2 separate regions of the Homo sapiens genome follow, and region 1 is linked to region 2. Evidence: promoter capture Hi-C in human tissues and cell types (Jung and others, 2019). All regions are on one chromosome and are shown on one strand. The core of a region is centred on a gene start or on the middle of the fragment in contact, and the rest is flanking DNA. Distances in the headings are between cores, read along the strand shown.

The links. Contacts are between HindIII fragments. The study calls those that stand out against the background at their distance.
Region 1: a contact is called between a fragment that was not itself captured here and the fragment with the promoter of EXOSC1 in region 2, in 2 of the 25 tissues and cell types used here (mesenchymal stem cells and pancreas).

Annotation. Positions count from the first base shown.
Region 1 is chr10:97,523,267-97,529,805 of GRCh38, forward strand. The region is part of intron 1 of UBTD1 (ubiquitin domain containing 1); the gene reads left to right. Among named protein-coding and RNA genes, the nearest start is that of UBTD1, 28 kb to the left of the region's middle. The HindIII fragment of the contact is 3,642 bases long and covers 1,628-5,269 here.
Region 2 is chr10:97,441,564-97,447,931 of GRCh38, forward strand. It overlaps EXOSC1 (exosome component 1), which reads right to left and starts at 4,443. Exons shown (of 8, transcript NM_016046.5): 1 at 4,392-4,443; 2 at 4,169-4,284; 3 at 1,674-1,748. The coding sequence starts at 4,422. It overlaps ZDHHC16 (zDHHC palmitoyltransferase 16), which reads left to right and starts at 4,612. Exons shown (of 12, transcript NM_198046.3): 1 at 4,612-4,790. RefSeq lists enhancers at 3,572-4,152, 4,153-4,732 and a silencer at 4,664-4,873. The HindIII fragment of the contact is 7,908 bases long and covers 744-6,368 here.

The DNA.
Region 1 (6,539 bases), core at 2,199-4,698, 81 kb after region 2:
AATTTCATGAATTGTGGCAGGTCAACAAGGTGGCCATCTGGGAGCAATAGAGGGAAATGGGCATTTGCGGAGTGTCTTCCATGCTCCAGGCACAGACTATTGTGTTCTCCCAGCACCTGGTGGTGTGGCATCATTCATCTCCATTTTACAGATTGGAGAACTAAAGCTTGCTAGGGTCACCGGGCCAGTTACTGGTTGGGGTCAGAATGAGAATCCTCTTCTGCTTGGCTCCAGAGCCCAACTCCTCCTGGTCTTTGCAGCCTGTCTGCAGGGCCTGTCTTCTCCACTGTTTCCTTGCTAGCACTGAGCCCAGCACCTGGCATCAACATGAAGCGATGGTTGTAGAAGGTGGGCTAGAGCTGGCAGGCAGGGACTTGAGCTTGGTAGAGCCAGGATAGTTGGGAAGATGATTTGGGCACCTGGGGGCTGGGGATGGGGGCGGTATTTTTCCTCTGTCTTTGTACCTTCTTTGGGTGTAACTTGGTGGACATCAGAGTTCAGAGTTGAGGTGGTGCAGGGTGTAGCAGACCCAGAATTAAGGCAGGACTGTTGGTCTCTGTGGCCTCGTGAGACTGCTGAAGACCCGACGTCCCTTGTTCCTGCTGCTTCTGTGGCAGCTGGAGCCAGTGAGATGATGCCCCTTCCCCATTTACTGTTTTCTGCAGTTCTGCCTCCGTGACAGCCAGCAGGATGAGTGTGGGGAGACCCGTAAGAGGGGCTAGAATGAATGTTTGTGTGCATTTGGTTTTGTGTTCCTCAGCCCTTCTTTAGCAGCAGGACTTGGCTTTTAAACCTGCCATGGGCTCCGAGGCTGCCCTCCCACCCTGATCACAGTGCCCCTGCTCCTTATGGGTTCCTCGCTCTGTCACCCAGGCTGGAGTGCAGTGGCGCGATTATGGTTCACTGCAGCCTCTACCTCCCAGGCTCAGGTGATCCTCCCACTTTAGCCTCTAGAGTAGCTGGGACCATAGGCATGCGCCACCATCCCTGGCTAATTTTTGTATGTTTTTGTAGGGATGCGGGGGGGTCTCACTATGTTGCCCAGACTAGTCTCGAACTCTTGGATTCAAGCAGTCCACCCACCTCAGCCTCCTAAAGTGCTGGGATTACAAGCATGAGCCACCAAGCCCGGTCCCCCATAGAGTTTTTACCCTGACTGGCACACCTCCTTCTTCTAGCCCCCTCTTCCTGATACTCCCAAATCGTAGGGGTTGGCTGGGAACAGGATTCACCATTCCTCCTGGAGGCACCAAGACAGGTTTTTGAGGACTACGATGACTTATGTCTCATTGATGCTCTGCTCACCCTATGAAGGCAGGTGCATTTCTTTGTGGAAAGCTGCCCTGCTGCGTTGAAGGGGTCTAATGATACAGTGGCTTAAAGAATGAGGAGTTTGTTTTTCTGTCTCATGTAATGGCCCTGATGTCCTCAACGTGAACAGACCAAGTGAGGGGGCAGCTCGGCTCCTTGTGGTCACCTGGGATCCTGTTTTTTTGAAGTTGCTGCCACATCATAGAACATTGTTGTTTGCATGGTTGAAGTTGGGTTGCAGCCATGTCTGGGCTCCAGCCAGTGGAGGGGGAAGAAAGGGTGGAGGAGGCCTGCCTACCTTCCCTAGGCCCTGGTCCTCCATGGCCCATGTGCAGCATAGTCACATGGCCTCCCTGGCTGCAAGCAAGGCTGAGAAATGTCTGCCTGGGCTGTTGTGTGGCCATGAAGAAGGGGAAAGTGGCTTTGGGTAGGTAACTAACAGCCTCACTACAGAAGATGGAGAGTATTTTCACTTGTGTGTGCTGAGAGAAGAATATGCCTCCCTGCTAGTCATGTGCCCACACTCTTTGGCAACTTGCACATGTGCCCCCTTCCTTGGGAAACATCTGTGTGCCAGACTATGCTGCACCAACTTAGGGGACCAGAAGCCAAAGAAGGCAATTTCTGCCTTTTAGCAACTCACAGTGTAGTCTGGAGAGGGTGTGTGTGGAACCCAGACAATCTGTAAATGCCAAAACAGAGAATCTCTTTTGTTGTATGCTGGGCACCGCAGATAGAGAGCTAAAAGACCACCTGGGGCCTCCATATGCTCGCAGTTGGGTGGACTGGAAAATGGAATGAAGTGCTGAGAGCAGTGTGGCTGAGGAATTAGGAGGGCTTCACAGAAGAGGTGACATTCTAGCTGGGCGCCGACATTTTCTATTTCAAAAGATGGGGTATCTTCGGGAGAGAAAACCAATAGCAAAGGCATGGAGACTTGGAAGCTCATGGAGGGCTAGTGGCTCAGGTGTGGTCTGAGCCTAGTGGAAGTGAGTGAGAGAACAGGTCCCAGCTGTCTATGCGGCTCACTTCTCCCTCCACTGGCCTCTGCACCCATCTCCATATTAGAGGCCTTCTCTGGTCCCCCATTCTCAATTCTAATCACTGTATTTTTCTGCTTAACTTGGGGATGACATATAAATACCTGACATACTCTAGATGGCCTTGTGCATTGTCTGTCTCTCCTGCTAGAATGTAAACTGCGGGAGAGCAAGGACTTTGTTTTGTATGGGTAAATACTGGGTCCTCAAATATTTGTTGAATGAATAAATGAATTTATGGGAATGTGGTAATGTGGACTGAAGATCATATTTTTGGAAAGACTTGATTTCCATGCTAAGGTGTTTGGCTTTTATTTTTAGGTAGTGGGGAGCCATAGAAAGTTTTTGAGCAGGGGAGTGACATAATCACTATTAACAAGGTTCCTGGCAGCAGCAAGGAAGATGGTCAGAGTGGGGAGAGAGTGCCACTTCCCTGGCCCTAGGTCAGCTCCAAAGCAACTTACCCTGCAGACTGATGTGCCATTTGTGTAGTCTGGAAGCCTATTCGCAGTCATTGTGTTTGGGGCGAAGCAGAGGATTCGATCTCTGGCAGGGCTTCATCCCTAAGGGTCTAACAAGCACTCTTGTGCACTGCTGGTGGAAGTGAAAATTGATAGTCTTTCTGGAAAGCAATTTGGCAAAAGGTAACAAGAACCTTAAAACTATCCCTGCTCTTTGACCTAGAAATTCCACAACAAGGACTTTATCATAGAGAATGAAGCCGAAGTGTGTGCAAAGCTTTATGCACTAAGACTTTGATTCTAGCGTGAAAAATGGAAAGTCTAAATGTGTGACTCAAGGACTTCTCAAATCCATCCTCTCATCTCCATCCCACTAAAACTCTGCCTACCATGATCGACACAATAAAATCTGAGTCCAGGCCCCTGTTTTTTCGCTCCTCTTCTAATGCAGCAGCCTCTTAACTGATCTTCCTGCCTTCATTCAAGACTCCTTAAACCCACTCTCCACATGGATTCCAGAGTGAACAATCAAAAATGCCTGCCTTACATATCATTTGGGGTCAGGAATTCAAGACCAGCCTGGCCAACATGGTGAAACCCCATCTCTACTAAAAATACAAAAGTCAGCCGGGCATGGTGGCATGCACCGGTAGTCCCAGCTACTTGGGAGGCTGAAGCAGGAGAATTGCTTGCTTGAACCTGGGAGGCAGAGGTTGCAGTGAGCCAAGATCACGCCACTGCACTCCAGCCTGGGTGACAGAGCAAGACTCCGTCTCAAAAAAAAAAAAAAAAAAAAGAAATGCCTCTCTTAGGCCGAGCGTGGTGGCTCACACCTGTAATCCCAGCACTTTGGGAGGCTGAGACGGGTGGATTACCTGAGCTCAAGAGTTCAAGACCAGCCTGGGCAACATAGGAAAACCCTGTCTCTACTAAAATATGAAAATTAACCAGGCGTGGTGACAGGCACCTGTAATACCAGCTACTCAGGAGGCTGAGGCATGAGAATTGCTTGAACCAGGAGGCGGAGGTTGGAGTGAGCCAAGATCGTGCCACTGCACTCCAGCCTAGGCAACAAAGCGAAACTCTTGTCTCCAAAAAAAAAAAAAAAAAAAAAAAGCCTGCCTTGGCAGGCTGCGGTGGCTTATGCCTATAATCCCATATGCGTTGGGAGGCCAACGCAGGAGGATCACTTGAGTCCAGGAGTTTGAGACCAGCCTGGGCAACCCTATCTATACAAAAAATTTCAAAAAGAAAAAGAGTGCCTATCCTTCCTTGGCTTTGCCCCTTCAGAGGCTCTCCCATCCCTTAGGGCATAATGTCCAAGTTGTGTCACTGGCCCAGAGGCCCTCACTGATCTGCCCTTCTTTTTTATTTATTTATTTATTTATTTATTTTTATTTTTATTTTATTTTTTTATTGATCATTCTTGGGTGTTTCTCGCAGAGGGGGATTTGGCAGGGTCATAGGACAATAGGAGGGAAGGTCAGCAGATAAACAAGTGAACAAAGGTCTCTGGTTTTCCAGGCAGAGTGTTTGTGTCCCTGGGTACTTGAGATTAGGGAGTGGTGATGACTCTTAACGAGCATGCTGCCTTCAAGCATCTGTTTAACAAAGCACATCTTGCACCACCCTTAATCCATTTAACCCTGAGTGGACACAGCACATGTTTCAGAGAGCACAGGGTTGGGGGTAAGGTCATAGATCAACAGGATCCCAAGGCAGAAGAATTTTTCTTAGTACAGAACAAAATGAAAAGTCTCCCATGTCTACTTCTTTCTACACAGACACAGCAACCATCCGATTTCTCAATCTTCCACCTTTCCCCCTTTTCTATTCCACAAAACCGCCATTGTCATCATGGCCCGTTCTCAATGAGCTGCTGGGTACACCTCCCAGACGGGGTGGTGGCCGGGCAGAGGGGCTCCTCACTTCCCAGTAGAGGCGGCCGGGCAGAGGCGCCCCTCACCTCCCGGACGGGGCGGCTGGCTGGGCGGGGGGCTGACTCCCCCACCTCCCTCCCGGACGGGGAGGCTGGCCGGGCGGGGGGCTGACCCCCCCACCTCCCTCCCGGACGGGGCGGCTGGCCGGGCGGGGGGCTGACTCCCCCACCTCCCTCCTGGACGGGGCGGCTGGCCGGGCAGAGGGGCTCCTCACTTCCCAGTAGGGGCGGCCGGGCAGAGGCGCCCCTCACCTCCCGGACGGGGCGGCTGGCCGGGCAGGGGGCTGACCCCCAACCTCCCTCCCGGACGGGGCGGCTCGCCTGGCGGGGGGCTGACCCCCCCACCTCCCTCCCGGACAGGGCGGCTGGCCGGGCGGGGGGCTGACTCCCCCACCTCCCTCCCGGACGGGGCGGCTGGCCGGGCAGAGGGGCTCCTCACTTCCCAGTAGGGGCGGCCGGGCAGAGGTGCCCCTCACCTCCCGGACGGGGCGGCTGGCCGGGCAGGGGGCTGACCCCCAACCTCCCTCCCGGACGGGGCGGCTCGCCTGGCGGGGGGCTCACCCCCCCACCTCCCTCCCGAACGGGGCGGCTGGCCGGGCGGGGGGCTGAACCCCCACCTCCCTCCCGGACGGGGCGGCTGGCCGGGCGGGGGGCTGACCCCCCCCACCTCCCTCCCGGACGGGGCGGCTGGCCGGGCGGGGGGCTGACCCCCCCCACCTCCCTCCCGGACGGGGCGGCTGGCCGGGCGGGGGGCTGACTCCCCCACCTCCCTCCCGGACGGGGCGGCTGGCCGGGCAGAGGGGCTCCTCACTTCCCAGTAGGGGCGGCCGGGCAGAGGCGCCCCTCACCTCCCGGATGGGGCGGCTGGCCGGGTGGGGGGCTGACCCCCCACCTCCCTCCTGGATGGGGCGGCTGGCCTGGCGGGGGCTGACCCCCACCTCCCTCCCGGACAGGGTGGCTGCCGGGCGGAGACGCTCCTCACTTCCCAGACGGGGTGGCAGCCGGGCGGAGGGTCTCCTCACTTCTCAGACAGGGTGGCCAGGCAGAGACGCTCCTCACCTCCCAGACAGGGTCGCGGCCGGCCGAGGCACTCCTCACATCCCAGACGGGGCAGCGGGGCAGAGGCGCTCCCCACATCTCAGACGATGGGCGGCCGGGCAGAGACGCTCCTCACTTCCTAGATGGGATGGCGGCCGGGAAGAGGCGCTCCTCACTTCCTAGGTGGGATGGCGGCCGGGCAGAGACGCTCCTCACTTTCCAGACTGGGCAGCCAGGCAAAGGGGCTCCTCACATCCCAGATGATGGGCGGCCAGGCAGAGACGCTCCTCACTTCCCAGACGGGGTAGCGGCTGGGCAGAGGCTGCAATCTCGGCACTTTGGGGGGCCAAGGCAGGCGGCTGGGAGGTGGAGGTTGTAGCGAGCCGAGATCACGCCGCTGCACTCCAGCCTGGGCACCATTGAGCACTGAGTTAACGAGACTCCGTCTGCAATCCCGGCACCTCGGGAGGCCGAGGCTGGCGGATCACTCGCGGTTAGGAGCTGGAGACCAGCCCGGCCATCACAGCGAAACCCCGTCTCCACCAAAAAAAAAACGAAAACCAGTCAGGCGTGCAGGCACTCGGCAGGCTGAGGCAGGAGAATCAGGCAGGGAGGTTGCAGTGAGCCGAGATGGCAGCAGCACAGTCCAGCTTCGGCTCGGCATGAGAGGGAGACCGTGGAAAGAGAGGGAGAGGGAGACCGTGGGGAGAGGGAGACCGTGGGGAGAGGGAGAGGGACTGGGACTGATCT
Region 2 (6,368 bases), core at 3,193-5,692:
CACCGCAACCTCCGCCTCCTGGGTTCAAATAATTCTCCTGCCTTAGCCTCCTGAATAGCTGGGATTACAGGCATGCACCACCATGCCCAGCTAATTTTGTATTTCTAGTAGAGACAGGGTTTCTCCATGTTGGTCAGGCTGGTCTCGAACTCCTGATCTCAGGTGATTCGCCTGCTTCAGCCTCCCAAAGTGCTGGGATTACAGGTGTAAGCCACTGCATCCGGCTGGGTTTTTTTTTTTTTTTTTAAATCTTTTCACAACTTGCCCTTCAGAGAGGTATAGACTTTTTAAAGTATAGATGGCTAACAATTAAAAAAAAAAAAAAAAAAGAGGCTGGACACAGTGGCTCATGCCTGTAATCCCAGCACTTTGGGAGGCTGAGGTGGGCGCATCACTTGAGGTCAGGAGTTCAGGACCAGCCTGGCCAACATGGTAAAACCCCACCTGTACTAAAAATACAAAAATTAGCCAGGCGTGGCAGCACATGCCTATAATCCCAGCTACTCGGGAGGCAGAGGCAGTAGAATTGCTTGAACCCAAGAGGCCAGAGGCTGCAGTGAGCCGAGATCGTGCCACTGCACTCCAGCCTGGGTGACAGAGCAAGGCCCTGTCTCAAAAAAAAAAAAACAGGAATGGCAAAAAATAAAGTCTTTTGCTTCTCTGCAGAAAAAGAACTCAGCTTCAGATGTTCAAAAATAGGCCTCCTAATCATCCTCTGGCATCCCTGTTTCCCAGACACAGGTAGAACTATGTATTCAGGGAATCAGCTCAGTGAAGGAACTATGCATGCCTGAACTTGGCTGCCTTGATTATTATCCTAGAAATCTGTAAGCCTGCACAGTCCAGTAAAACTTTCTGTGATGACAGAAAAGTCATGTGCTGACCAGTATAGCAACCACTAGCCACAAGTGGCTATTGAGTACTTGAAATGTGGCTAATGTGACTAAGGAAATCAATTTTATTTTTTTCTTGAGAGACAGAGTCTTGCCCTGTTACCCAAGCTGGAGTGATCATGGCTCACTGCAGCCTCAACCCCCTGGGCCCAAGCGATCTTCCTGCTTCAGCCTCCCAAGTAGTTGGGACCACAAGCATGTGCTACCATGCCTGGCTAATTTTTTATTCTTCTTCTTCTTTTTTTTTGAGACGGAGTCTCACTCTGTTGCCCAGGCTGGACTGCTGTGACGCAGGCTCACTGCAACCTCCACCTCCTGGGTTCAAGCACTTCTCCTGCCTCAGCCTCCCGAGTAGCTGGGATTACAGGCATGCACCACCACGCTAAGCTAATTTTTGTATTTTTGGTAGAGACAGGGTTTCACCATGTTGGCCATGATTGGCCAGGCTGGTCTTGAACTCCTGACCACAGGTGATCTGCCCACCTCGGCCTCCCAAAGTGCTGGGATTACAAGCATGAGCCACCATGCCCGGCAATTTTTGATTCTTTTTGTAGAGATGAGGTTTCACTATGTTTCCCAGGCTGGTCTTGAACTCTGGGCTGAAGCAATCCTCCTGCCTCGGCCTCTTAAAGTGCTAGAATTACCAGTGTGAGCCACTGTGCCCTGCCAGAAATAAATTTATGTAGCTTGTGGCTATCATACTGGACACTGCAGTTCTGGTATGGTCATGATTTCAGTATTGAATGGGCATTCTAAGCATGGAGGTCAGGACCAACTTACCTTACAGGTTACAATAGCTCCCACATCTGGCAGTAACTGGGACTCTGTTTCTCTCACTACAGACACCACTGGAAGCTACAGAGGGAACAACAAAAAACTGAAATGTCCTGACTAACCCTTGGGTCAAGGCATTTGTGGCTTGAGAGTAATATAGGAATGTCTTGGTATAAAGGTGAGAGTTGGAGTATGGATTCATTTATAGCCCAGAGCAGAAGGCCTTAGAAATTTTAGGAAATAGGAGGACCAGGAGGCTACAGAATGCTGCTAGAAGACATACATCTCTAAACTTCTTTTTTTGTTGTTGGAGACGGAGTCTTGCTCTGTCGCCTAGACTGGAGTGCAGTGGCACGATCTCGGCTCACTGCAAGGTCCACTTCCCGGGTTCACGCCATTCTCCTGCCTCAGCCTCCCGAGTAGCTGGGACTACAGGCACCCGCCACCATGCCCAGCTACTTTTTTTTGTAGTAAATCTCTAAACTTCTAATAAGTTTTTTGGTGATTCTCTCAGAATTTCTTGGTATACAACTATATTGCCTATAATCATTGACAATTTTACTTTTTTTGTTTTTTTTTGAAATGGAGTTTCACTCTTGTTGCCTAGGATGGAGTGCAAGGGTGCCATCTTGGTTCACTGCAACCTCCACCTCCTGGGTTCAAGTGATTCTCCTGCCTCAGCCTCCCGAGTAGCTGGGATTACAGAAGCCTGTCACCATGCTCGGGTAATTTTTTGTATTTTTAGTAGAGATGGGGTTTCACCATGTTGGCCAGGCTGGTCTCGAACTCCTGACCTCAGGTGATCCACCTGCCTTGGCTTCCCAAAGTGCTGGGATTACAGGTGTGAGCCACTGCGCCCTGCCGACAATTTACTCTTTCCTCCAAAGTTATACTGCTTCCTTCTGTTTCTTATTTTATTGCACAGGCTGAAATTTCCACAAAAATGTTACATAATAGCGGCTATGCTTGTTTTCTTCTATTTTAAGTGAATACTTGCAGAGTTTTCTCTTTGAGCATGGTATTGGCTGTTGGTATAAGACAGATATTTTGAGCCTCATCTTTTATCAATCTCTCCGTTGCTCACAATGCTTCAGCTCTCCTGGCCTTCTTTCAGTTTCCCCAACTTACTAAATTCTTCCCACTTTCAGATCTCTCTTCAACCTATTCTTTCTGCCAGAGCTGCACTCTCTCCACCCACCTGACTCTTACCTACTCTTTAGATGATTCAGCTTAAATGTCACTTCTGCTGACTAGGATGGGTTTGCCTGTTACATGTTCTCAAGGTGCCCTGTAATATTCTTTCAAAGCACCACCACATATGTAACCATATGCTCATTTGAGCATTTATTTGTTTACAATTTGTGTCTGTGTCCTTTGATAGCAGAAACCAAGTCAGCGCTGTGCCTGACACATGAAAATACTCAAGTGATATCTATGAAATGAACAAACTCAGGACTGTTAAGAACATTCCCAACAATGACTGAATAGAAAGCCCCTTGAATCAGACAGCTTAAGTTACTTACTCAAAGCAGAATCAAAGTCAAGTTAGCCAGAACGTAACTGTTCTAATTCTGAATCCTCTTTCTATTGTGCTCCTTCAAATATTGCTTATATGATCCTGAGCTAATCCTGGATCTATCTCTGAAACTAGAAAGGTAGGTATTACTCACACATTCAACATTTATTGAGGAGCTGCCTTGTGCTATATACGGATGGTATGGTGGTAGGGCCTGCTTTCACGGACTTAGATTTAAGCAGGGGAGAAGTCTAGTAGGAAACATATACCTGAGTGTCTCATCATATGCTGACATAGTGCTTGGAAGAAAAGGAACAGAGTTTTTTGTGAGTCTTTAACAAAACAAACAAAAACAAAACACCCCACAAAACTCCTTTCCTCAATTAGTGGGTCCAGAAGGACTTCTCTGAGGTGATAGTAGAGAAGCTATCTAAAGGAGGTAGGAATTAAATAGGCCTAGGAAGATAGAAGCGTTCCAGATAGATGGCATGTTACAAAGGCTCTGTAGCAGGAGAAAGCTTGGCGCATTACCGACACTGAAAGAAGCTAGTATGTTATAAAAAATTTTTAAAGGGCAAGCAGAGACTGTGATTATAACTTTTAAACACAGAAAAGACAGTATGACTAGATTGCGTCAGTGAGGTGGAGATAGTGGCGCTAGATAAAGTCGGAAAGGTAAGCAACATTCATACAGTATGCAACTCACTGCTGGGCTGAGCTGGGCTGGGATGGGATACTGAGTTCGCATCTGCTTTTGTCCCAACTTCCCTCCCCGAGGGTCAGCAGCACAACCAAGCGAGATCAACACAACTAGTGTGTGGTGGCTAAGTGCACCACAGCGGCGATACGGCTAGAAGAAACTAAGAGACCAACATTGTACCACTGAGGCACTAAAGACGCGTCCGCAGTGCCCATGCCTAAGGACTGGAACTCAAGGGCAGCCTAAGGGAAAAACAGAGGGGAGATGGCATGCCGCTTCCTTTACCGCGCCATTCTCGCTGCTCTTCATCAGACAGCCGGCAAGCGACGAAAAGATGTAGCCGTGGCGGGTGTAGGTGCCGCTGCCCGGGCTGCCCTCCTCCAAGTTACACAGACGTTCGCCTGCAGAAAAAATGCTGCATCGGTCACGGGCCCCCAGAAGCTGTAGGCCGTTTAGCCTTCTTGCTTCAGCCCCTATCCAGGACTCTGTACGGGAAGCGCTCACTTACCGGGGATGCAGTATCTCACAGGTGGCGCCATGATTGCCGCTGTCCCAAAACCAGGATGAAAACGAAGTCGATTTCTCATTGGCCAAACCCAGGCACAGTTCCGCAGTAAGACACGTGTCAATTGGTACTCTTTATCCTTGCGAGTAAACTCCATTTCCCAGGTTACCCCGGGACAAATCCGGGGGCGGAACTTCAGAGGTCCACGCTGGCGCCTGCGCGTGTGGTTGAGGATGGGCTGGCGGCGGGTCCGGGTCCGCTGCCTGGCGCTGCGGGCGGCGGGCCATGGTGGTTTGGATTGAGCCGGGCCCGGCCGGGGCGCCGAGTCGGAGGGGGTGGCAGTGAGCGGCGGCAGAGGCTACGGGGCTCGGTTTGGCTGACTGGGGAGTCGGCAGGCGGCAGGTAAGGGCGAAGCCTCGGCCCTTGCTCCCCATCCTAGTCCCTTTTTCTGGGTAGGGCACTGCCCTGGGGCCTTGTCTTGAGTGCGGGTTCCTGCTCTCTCCTCGCCCCGCCCTGCGGGGCCGTGCCCTCCTCAGCCCGAGCGCACCTTCCGAGCAATCGTTACGCTCAGAGCAGGAGGGAAGGAGGTCAAGCGACCCAACTCGTCTGTTTCACAGATATGGAACCTCAGATTCAGAGACAGGGTTTGACTTGTCCAAAATGATCAAGATAGTTAAGATAGAGCCCAAACTGGAACCCACGGTTTTTGACTTCCAGTCCATCGCAGTTTCACCTCGCGGCTGTCATTGAGAAATAAAACCTTTTCCCGGTTTTTTTGTTTTGTTTTTGAGGAGTCTCGCTCTGTCGCCAGGCTGGAGTGCAGTGGAGCGATCTCTGTTCACTGCAACCTCCGCCTCCCGGCATCAAGCGATTCTCCTGCCTCAGCCTCCCGCGCAGCTGGGACTTACAGGCGCGCGCCACCACGCCCAGCTAATTTTTGTAGTTTTAGTAGTGACGGGGTTTCACCATGTTAGCCAGGATGGTCTTGATCTCTTGATCCGCCCGCCTCGGCCTTCCAAAGTGCAGGGAGTACAGGCATGAGCCACTGCCTCCGGCCTTTTCCCGGTTTTTTAAACTGCAGCTTCCAGTCCTGCGGTCCGATCCTCTTCGCGGCCCCTCATCCCCACTTCAGTAAGCTTTCTCTGGTTGAAAAAGCCGAACTCTGGTTGTGTGGGCCCGTCATCAAAAGATAAGCAGCCCCAAAATAAAGTTGTTACTCTTTTTCTTCTCAGCGTGTTAGCCCAGAAGGGAGGTCTGCACATGAATAAAATGCTACTCTTTATTGATGTTGGGTATCTCCTACTTGAGATTGCAAACATCCTGAGAGCAGCGTCTTTGTCCAGATGACATTCGCCACGACTTTGATCTCAGTTCACCTGACTTCTGATGGCTTTGCCGTCTGTCCTTCCCTGTCCCCTCAGTCGACTTTCCCATTGGGAAACAGATGTGACTTAAAGCCATGGGAAGAGGGGAGTGTTGTGGCCAGCAATCTCCTCCAGTCTGGTGGCAGATGACCAGTATGGCCTGTGACTATTACTGAAGGATCAGAGTACTCGGGCTTGTGCTTGGGGTGGTAGTAAAGCTGCGCTTTGCTCTGTTTCCTCCCGTTCACTGAGATTAGCCCCTTCTCCCCTACACACATCTTTTTGAATTTTGCTTTACTTCTATTTCTTGAGATGAAAAGTCTGGGCCAGGTGCGGTGGCTCACGCCTGCAATCCCAGCACTTTGGGAGGCTGAGGCAAGCACATCACCTGAGGTCGGGAGTTTGAGACCAGCCTGACCAACATGGAGAAACCCGGTCTCTACTAAAAAAATACAAAATTAGCCAGGCGTGGTGGCACATGCCTGGAATCCCAGCCACTCAGGAGGCTGAGGCAGGAGAATTGCTTGAACCCAGGAGGCGGAGGTTGTGGTGAGCCCAGATTGTGCCATTGCACTCCAGCCTGGGCAACAAGAGTGAAACTCCATCTCAAAAAAAA